2 separate regions of the Homo sapiens genome follow, and region 1 is linked to region 2. Evidence: promoter capture Hi-C in 16 types of primary human blood cells and fetal thymus (Javierre and others, 2016). All regions are on one chromosome and are shown on one strand. The core of a region is centred on a gene start or on the middle of the fragment in contact, and the rest is flanking DNA. Distances in the headings are between cores, read along the strand shown.

The links. The method cuts DNA at HindIII sites, captures the fragments that hold promoters and counts their contacts. A CHiCAGO score of 5 or more calls a contact.
Region 1: a fragment that was not itself captured here is called in contact with the fragment with the promoter of CD53 in region 2 in 1 of 17 cell types (total CD8 T cells); the score reaches 5.6 in total CD8 T cells.

Annotation. Positions count from the first base shown.
Region 1 is chr1:110,615,232-110,619,565 of GRCh38, reverse strand. It overlaps a transcript of KCNA2 not described here. Among named protein-coding and RNA genes, the nearest start is that of KCNA2, 11 kb to the right of the region's middle. The HindIII fragment of the contact is 373 bases long and covers 2,516-2,888 here.
Region 2 is chr1:110,871,356-110,875,380 of GRCh38, reverse strand. It overlaps CD53 (CD53 molecule), which reads right to left and starts at 2,233. Exons shown (of 8, transcript NM_000560.4): 1 at 2,133-2,233. It also overlaps a transcript of LRIF1 not described here. RefSeq lists enhancers at 711-760, 2,273-2,382, 2,983-3,032. The HindIII fragment of the contact is 4,495 bases long and covers 1-2,375 here.

The sequences.
Region 1 (4,334 bases), core at 1,453-3,952, 260 kb after region 2:
TGCCGCCCGAGCCACAGTGTGCAGATACCGCTGCATGTGGCGCCCCCTGGCGGCCAGTGGCAGCTCGTGCGTCTGTCTTTTCTGCAGAGCTGATTTCCACCTTGTATGTGTAGGAGGGGCCTCCTTTACAAAGAACCAGCCATACCCTTGGGAGTGGGAGCAGATTTCATAGCCGAGACAGGAGACCTTGTAAGAACTTCCTATGTGCCAGGCACAAGGTTAAAACCGGTATTATCATACATGCATTCATTCGTTTTCCTAGTGTGTGCCAGGCATCTCCTAGGAAGTAATGTGTAAGCAGAGGCCCCATAAAGGAATTACATAAAGTAATGTGTAAGCAGAGCAAGTCATGAGCATGTTTGGGGGTACAGTCTCCCAGGGAGTGGGGACAGCCAGGCCACAGGGATGCATTCTTTGGGTGTGGAGACCAGGAAGGAGGCAGCTGCAGAGGGTGGTTGGAAATGAAGTCAGAAAGGTGTCCAGGGGACAGACGGTACAGAGCCTTCTGGGCCATAGGACTTCAGGCTTAGTTCTGAGAGTAGTGAACAACTACTGGACTTTGAACAAAGGCATAAAACAACTCGATTTATGTTGTTTATAAAATCACTCTGGCTTCTGCGAGGGCATGAATAGGAACAGGGAGGCCTGTGAGGAGCCCAGGTGAGAGTAGAGCATCTGGGGCCAGGTTTGCTTCGCCTGCCGGAAGAGATAAGACATCTGGTTCAGAAGATGGTCTGAAGGCAGAGGCCATAGGAATCCCTGTTGGATTAGCCAAAGGCTGTGTCCCGGGGTTTGGGCCTGAGCAACTGGATGAGGGAGGAGTGGTGCTACTCAGAGGGATGGGGGTTCAGGTGTGGGGGCATGGGAAGGAAGCAAGAATTTGGTTTGGGATGTGCCATGTTTGAGCTGCCAATTAGACTCTAAGTCATGATGTTCGGTGCACCTGAGCAGGGCTCTCTACCCTCTCCATCCTCTCCTTATGTTCCTTTCGTGGCTCTCCTGGGTCTTTTTCCCATCTGAGGGCCACCCAAGCTGCCTCATCCTACCTCCGAAAGGAAAGGAAGCCCACACAGAGCAGCAATTCCACAGGGAAAGAACTGAGGGAAGGCAGCCACATTCCAGGGCCACACCCTAACTGGACGGCAAGGTCAGAGGCAGTCAGGGTTCTAGGCTCCACTCTCCAGAGAGGAATTAAAAGAGGATAAAATGCCTTTTCTCACACACTGACAGGTCACTCACATGTCAGCCAGGAGTGCAGTGGCACGATCATACCTCACTGTAACCTCGAACTCTTGGACTCAAGTGATCCTCCCACCTCAGGCTCCCAAGTAGCTAAGACTACAGGTGGGTGCCATCATGCCCAGATAATTTTTTTAAATTATTTTTTGTAGAGACAGGGTCTCACTATGTTGCACAAGCTGGTTTCAAACTCCTGGCCTCAAGCAATCCTCCTGCTTTGGCCTCCCAAAATGCTGGGATTACAGGCATGAGCCGCCGCACCCAGGCCCTCTCTGCTCTTCTCACTCCATCTACATTCTCATCCTGGGGGATCTCATTCTCACCCTTGGCTTCAATGACCCCTCCATGATGATGACTTTCAACTCTCCATTCCCTACCCTCTACCTCTCTCCTGAGCATCAGGCCAGCATTGCCATCTGCCCTGTTGACAAGGAACAGGCCCATCAGAGCAGCCCCACAAACCCCCATGTATGTCAGAACTGCCCACCATGTGAGCTCCATCCCTCGACACATGCATGAGTGCACACACACAGGTGCACATGCACTTCGCACACCACCTCTCTGAAGCCCTGTGGCGGCCCCTCCACACTCTCTCTCCCTCTCCCATCTCGCTGATCACTGAATCCTACACTCCCTGTAATGTCTCCCTTTTGGTGCTTTTCTCTTCATCACTGCCTTCATCCCTTCTACCGTTCACCTATTGAACAAATGGCCTGAGTCCAGACCCTTGACATCTCTGAGGGGAAGCAACCTCCTCCTTACCAGTTTCCTGCCTCTGCTCTTAGACCCATCCTTTCCACTATACTCCACATTTCCCAAGTTATCTTTCTGAAACATAGATTGGATCCTGTCTCTCCCACTCAGAACTCTCAATGGCTCCCTATCACCTACAGGACAACCTGAACTCCTCAGCATGACTTCAAGGCCTTTCTCAGTCTTCCCCCATCGACCTCTCATTTTACCATGTCCTCCCACACTGCTCGCTCCTGGCACTCCATCTGGCGCAGAGTCCCTGGCACAGGTGAGGCTGCTTCTCTGGTCTGTCCCTGTTGTGCCTTTTTCCTGGAATCCACTCACCCATTTGGGTATTTAGCTCACAAATATGTATTAAGCTCCCAGTGTGCTCCAGGCACTGGGGGTACAGGAGAGAACAAAATCCTCAAAATCCCTCCTCACACAGTGTGAGATAGGCTGTTGCAGAGAGCCCTTCTCCAGGGAGTGAATGAATGAAGCAGGCAGTGAGGCATGCAGATTGCCCATGAAGAATGCCCAAGCTTCACTTCAACACCTCTTTCGGGGTCTTTGGACATTCTGCTCCTCCGTAAAGACATCTCTCAATTTCCATCCTTGGTGAAGGCTTTCCTCTTCTTAGGTGCTTTTGTACTTTATTCTTCAATTTAAGCCAATTCATTCTGCCTTGGGTTAGAGTCAATTGTTGACAATTCTGCTTCCTTATCCATCCTTCTAGGGAAGGAACTAGTATTTATCAAGCACCTCCTCTGTGCCACGCTCTGTGTGTCCCCCACAGTGCTTGGCTCGATGCCTGGTTTAGAGCCGGGGCTAGAGGACAGACCATGACTCAGCTCCTGCCTTTTGCACCCAGCTGCTGGCTATGTGGCTACAGGCAAGCCACTCAGCCTCACCAAGCTTGTTTCTGTAACTGTTGAATGGGAGTGAACATAGCACCTGCCTCTGTTAGGAATTATCCTTCTCACATAGCCTGGAGAGTTTCAGTTAGACCCTGGCTCGGTTGTTCCCAGGCTCTGTTGTTTTTTCCTTAGGAACCATGCTGGCTTATTTATGATCTAACTCTGGGGTCCCATGTTTCTTAAAGAAAGAACTTTTTCTTATTTCCTGAAAGCTCCTGGACTTTGGAAAGGTGCAGCTGGAAGAGAAGGGAAGTGATGCGCAGCCCCCTATGAAGTCACTCCACATTCTGACTTCCACCCTCTACCCCGCTGTCCCACAGAGCTGACCTGACAACTGCCACGGCCCCTGACCCTGACTAGATGAACCTGGGTGGTGGGGGTGGGGGTGGGGCTGCATTGCCAGCCCCTCATCATCTCAGGAAGTGAAGCCTGGGCCAGGGGCTACAGATGCCCCATCTCTCCAGGCTGACTTGGGGATCTGCAGGTTACAGAGTCCCTGATTTAACCCAGCAGATTCTAATGGCCAGAGTTCAGAGAAGAGAGGAATTCCTTTGAGGCATGCAGAACCCTTAAAGCATGGCTCTGCCCAGGTCCAAAGACCCCTGGAGAGCCCTATACCACATCCTCAAGGCAGAAAGAAACTCAGGTCTCTCTTTTTCTGAATTGGTGAGGCTCTTTTCTCCTCCCATCTGGTTTCCACTTCCTTAGGCACGTCCCTGCACCCATGTGGCCATTGGGTGGCACTGTTGGATGAGCCTAGAATTTCAGGTGAACAGCAAGCATCCCAAGACTCCTGGTTGCGAGTGTGAGAGGGACAGGAAACCACAGAGGTTCTCCTCCCCAGGCGCCCCGACCCTCTGTCCCTCCTCCTAGCTGTCGTTTGTGCCCCAGGCTCTCTTCCACTCCTAAGTCATCTTCCCTGTACTCTTCTAGATACACGTTGGTTCTGCAACACCAGGAATGCCAGGATGATTTAGCCACCTCCTCACTTGTCTACCTTTCCCTCCCCTGCTTCAAAGACTTGGGTCGATCGAAGCACCAAAGCATCACTGTTGCTGACACTAACAAGTAGTGCCAAGGGATTGCCTTTAAGGAAGATCAGGAGCGGAACATCTGGTGGCAAAGAAAATCTTTCTAATAGCCCCATTCTAGTGACCACCTTCAACCTCCTCATAGCAGGAGAGTTTGGGAGTAGGGGACTTAGGATGTTTTGTTCTTTTAATCAATTCAGAAAATATGTATGTTTGAAATAAAAATAAAAATACTTGAGCCAGAGAGGCTGAGTCACTCCAGAGCCTCAGATTTGAGTTCCCAGGGCAAGCCCCACTGCCTGTCCACACAAGAGTTTACTCCATTCAACAAACACGTTTTTTTATCCAACTGTTTTCTACCTAGTCTTTCATGCCTCTAATTCTACTTCCTTAGCATTCAGGTAAGGCCCTAGGT
Region 2 (4,025 bases), core at 984-3,483:
ATTCTGTCGTGTGAACATGGTGGGCATAGCCCCACCCAGAGCTGGACCTAGGACCTGCCTGGTGAGCGATCTTGCCCTCCACTTTCTGGTGCCAAGTAGGAGAAAGGGCTTTCCACTTCATGTGGCTCTGTAAACATGGTGTGTTACACTGCAGTCTCACTTGCTTTCTCTCATTTCTAACATGCCTGGAGGTACACACTTCTTTGAATTTGAATATACAGCACCCTTGGTCTAGAATGTCTCCATAGCAAACCCATACTTCTGTGAAAGTGAACCCACCAGTCACCTCTCTAGGCAGTTTTTGGCACACTCCTAACTCCTACAGTTTGTGCACGTTCTCCATCTATTATAGAAAAGAGCACATTGCACTGTATTTGTATATTGCTGTGACTGTCATCCATAATAAACTCTACAACTCCTTTCAGATGATAATCTTTTCTGTTATCCTGTATCTCCAGCACCAAGTGCCATATCTGGCCATGGGGTAGGAGTGGGAAAGGAGAACCAGAGTCCGAGGGCCTCTGTGCAGTCAGAGGTCAATCAGAGGGCACAAAAAACCAAGGACCAACAGACTTTGTCCTTTCCAGTTTGTGCCTCTTGTCAGTGAACAAAGGTGAGGTCACTTAGGTGGTGGTAACCATAGCTGTGAAGGCATGAACTTGGAATCATTCCTCATGAATATAAAGGTACCCAATCCTTTCATTTAAAAATTAAGTGTTCTTAACTGGCCCACACAGGAAACATCACAGGAAATAATGTTTCAGTTCAGTCTTTGCTCCCATTCAACCACAATTTCAAAATAGTACAGATTCTCCTCAAGATTGAGAAAGCAAAACCTCTTTGTTTGTCCAGCAGCTGGGAGTTTGCTTTTTCTCAGCTTTCTTCCAAAGCACACGCATAGTATGATATCTCTTATCTCCCATGGGAGTTCCTTAAGAGTAGGACTGTTTGCTAGACAAATATTCTCCTTCTACCTTTTCATCTCCCTCCCCCACAATTCCCAAAGCACAGTGCCTGGCCTCAGGAGGCACCTACCACTTGATTATTAAGTGAATTTATTTAAAAGACTGCTTTTTATTTTTTAATACAAGGCTCAATAAACTCTGAGGTGTTTTGGGAATCCAGAGCCCTCTCCCCGTCCCCACCCCTCTTGGAAATCTAGAGCCCTCTGCCCTGTTCCCAATCCTCATACTTAGATGGGTGGGTGTAATCAAAGAGAACTTTCTCCTTTCTGCTCCAGGGCATAATCAAGTGAAATTCTCACAGGTCTTGGAAGAAGAAAGCTCTTACATAGAGTTTCCGATGGTGGTCACAGAGAGTCAGGACCGAAGCTCTGCTAACACTTTGCTGAGTCCATGCAACCTCAGTCATTAGTTACAGCACATGATTGGAAATTACTGCAGTATCAAGTTTTGGGGATTGCATTTTATACGTGCATTTCATGTGACATTTATCAGTGGTCATGTTTTGTACACCAAGGATAATTTGGGGAAATGCTGAGGATCCCAATGTGCTTCCTGCTCCTTAAAAGCCAACAATCTATGCATCCTTTAGAGATGTCTAGCTTTCACCTTTTAAAATACAGTTACTGAGCACATCCTGGTGTTTTGATTTTTAGCCACCTTTCTATTTAGTGGCTTTGAAGAACCACAGTGGGAGTCACTAAATTTACTTTTGAAATTTTCTCAAATGAAAAAGAACTGTGTCTTCTAGCTGTCTTTCTAAAGACAGCTCTGGCTGTGGGTTCTTTCCTCACTTTAAAATCACAAGACCAATTTTCTGAAGACCAGAGCACATAGGAAATCTCCCCAATGTCATCTCGCATAGAAAGCTCCAGGCATCAGGAATTACTACACAGAGTAATTCAAGCTCTGAAGCAATTAAGGCATGTGAATGCCTCGACTCAGAGATTTAGATAATGGGAACCTGATTAAGTAAAAGTATTTCTGGCCTGATTGCCTTTGGGGATGTTACTAGGATCTTGCTAATCTGTTTTACTTTGTGCACTAAATATTTGTGAAAGAGAAGTTGCCGGAGATTTTATGGTTACTAGAGAGGTATATGGAGACCCCTAAGAATACGCCCTACCCCACATTAGACAGCAAGCCAAGTTAAAACGTCATCAACCTTACCTTTTCCAGGCACCGTTCCTCAGTCCTTTCGGCAGAATTTAGTGATTATCCTTGAGGTGGCCGAGACAAGGCTGGTAACACAGATATCCGGGGCTATTTGTGTAAAAGGAGAAGTGAAGGGTGAAAAAATATGATCATGCTGTGACGACAGGAAGCCCAGATGAGAAGAAGGAGGAAGTGAGGCTGAGTCCGCCCTCTTTAGTCTCAGAGATTTAGTACTTTCCCAGTGGCTTTTTAGAAGCTTCCTCTCACAGCCCACCCTAAACTAGTTTTGTGAAACAAAAGAAAACTTCAAAACCAAGTTGGTTCAGGCACAGATCTGTGAGCAGTGGTGGATTCTAGGGTAATTTGGCAATGATTTTTGCTTAGAAAAGGACAGTGCTTCTCAATCAAGGTGGCATCTCAGAATTAACTGTGTATTTGTTCAAAAAGAAGTATGCCTGGCCCCACCACCAGTTTCCCATTCAGGTAGACAGACTGGAGGGGAACACAGGAACCAATATTTCTAAACATTTTCTAGGCCCGAGACTTTGGAATGTCTTTCTGAAGATTCTCTGCCCCCTCCTCATACTCCCTCTGTCTGGCTTCAGCCAGTCTCTAGACTTGAATTGGACACCATTTGCAGACTTCTCTGTCTCGAGAGCAAGACTGTCTTAAGGTGAGTCCCCAAGGCATAATCCCAGGGGCACTGGTAGAAATGATTTGGTTAGTACAGGAAACACCACATTTGGAGCCAAAGATCTGAGTTTCAGTTCCAGCTTTATCTCTTTTAGCTGTGAGATCTTGAGCAAGTCTCAATCTGTCAGCCTCAGTTTATTAATGGTAACACCTAATAATAATCCTACTGGTTACTGTTACATCCTTATTTATATACAAGAAAACAGGCGCTCAAAGAGGTTAGAAAATTTGCCCAAGCTCATACAACTAAGACATGTCAGAGGTAGGATTAAAATTCAAGGTCACAGAGAAGGCCTTTTGAGAAACACTGTGATCAATATATTTTGAAAAATGTGTTTCTGGTTTCACTATGCTGCATCACTGGAATTTTCTTAGATTGGGTCAAAGGAGTATGTGACAACCCAAATGTATCACTAGCTAACTATGAAACTTGGAAGCAATCACTGGGCCCCAATGTTTTCATCTTATAAATGAACAGATAGATGCACTCTGCGGTGCTGACTTGCGGGCATGCCTCTGGGAAAGCTAGCTGTCTCCCGCTTCCTTCACCCTGAGACATTCAGATCCAGAGTAATCTCCAGCCAGGGCTGTCTTGTGGGGAAAACTGAATTAAATGAAGGTAAAAAGGTCTTTACTGCAGAACTTGTCAGTCCTTAATATTCTCTAAGCAGGGGAAATAATATATAGATTTCTCCAAACTTATCTGAGCATGGAACTGTGTGGTGTGTGTGTGTGTGTGTGTGTGTGTGTGTGTGTAGTTTCTCTTGGGGAACAATTTTTCAGTGTAACTACACTTTAGGGAATGCTATTAAAAAGTCTCTGCACCTCGGCTGGAATCACTGACCCTCACTCAGAGCTGCTGCCATGCTTACAGGTCCCTGAAGTGGTGGGGCTGAGGAGAGGCTTCTGGCTGAACTCATATTTTCCTAATTATCTCACCCATTCTGATGGCTCTAATTACTATCTGTCTGTTCCAAAGATTCACAAATCTATATAGATGCCATGATCTCTCCTTTGAGCTCCACTCTCTCCCAGGCACCTCAAATCCAATATCCAACTTCAGTTTGATTAACTTGGCATCCCCACACTCAAGCCTGCTCCTCCCACCATGTCCACCATCCAGGAAAGGCCTGACTGGCCTTTCAGCCACGTTCATGAGAAACCAGGTGTCCTCTTAAGCTACTCTCTCTCCCACACCACCACCTATTATCAGCC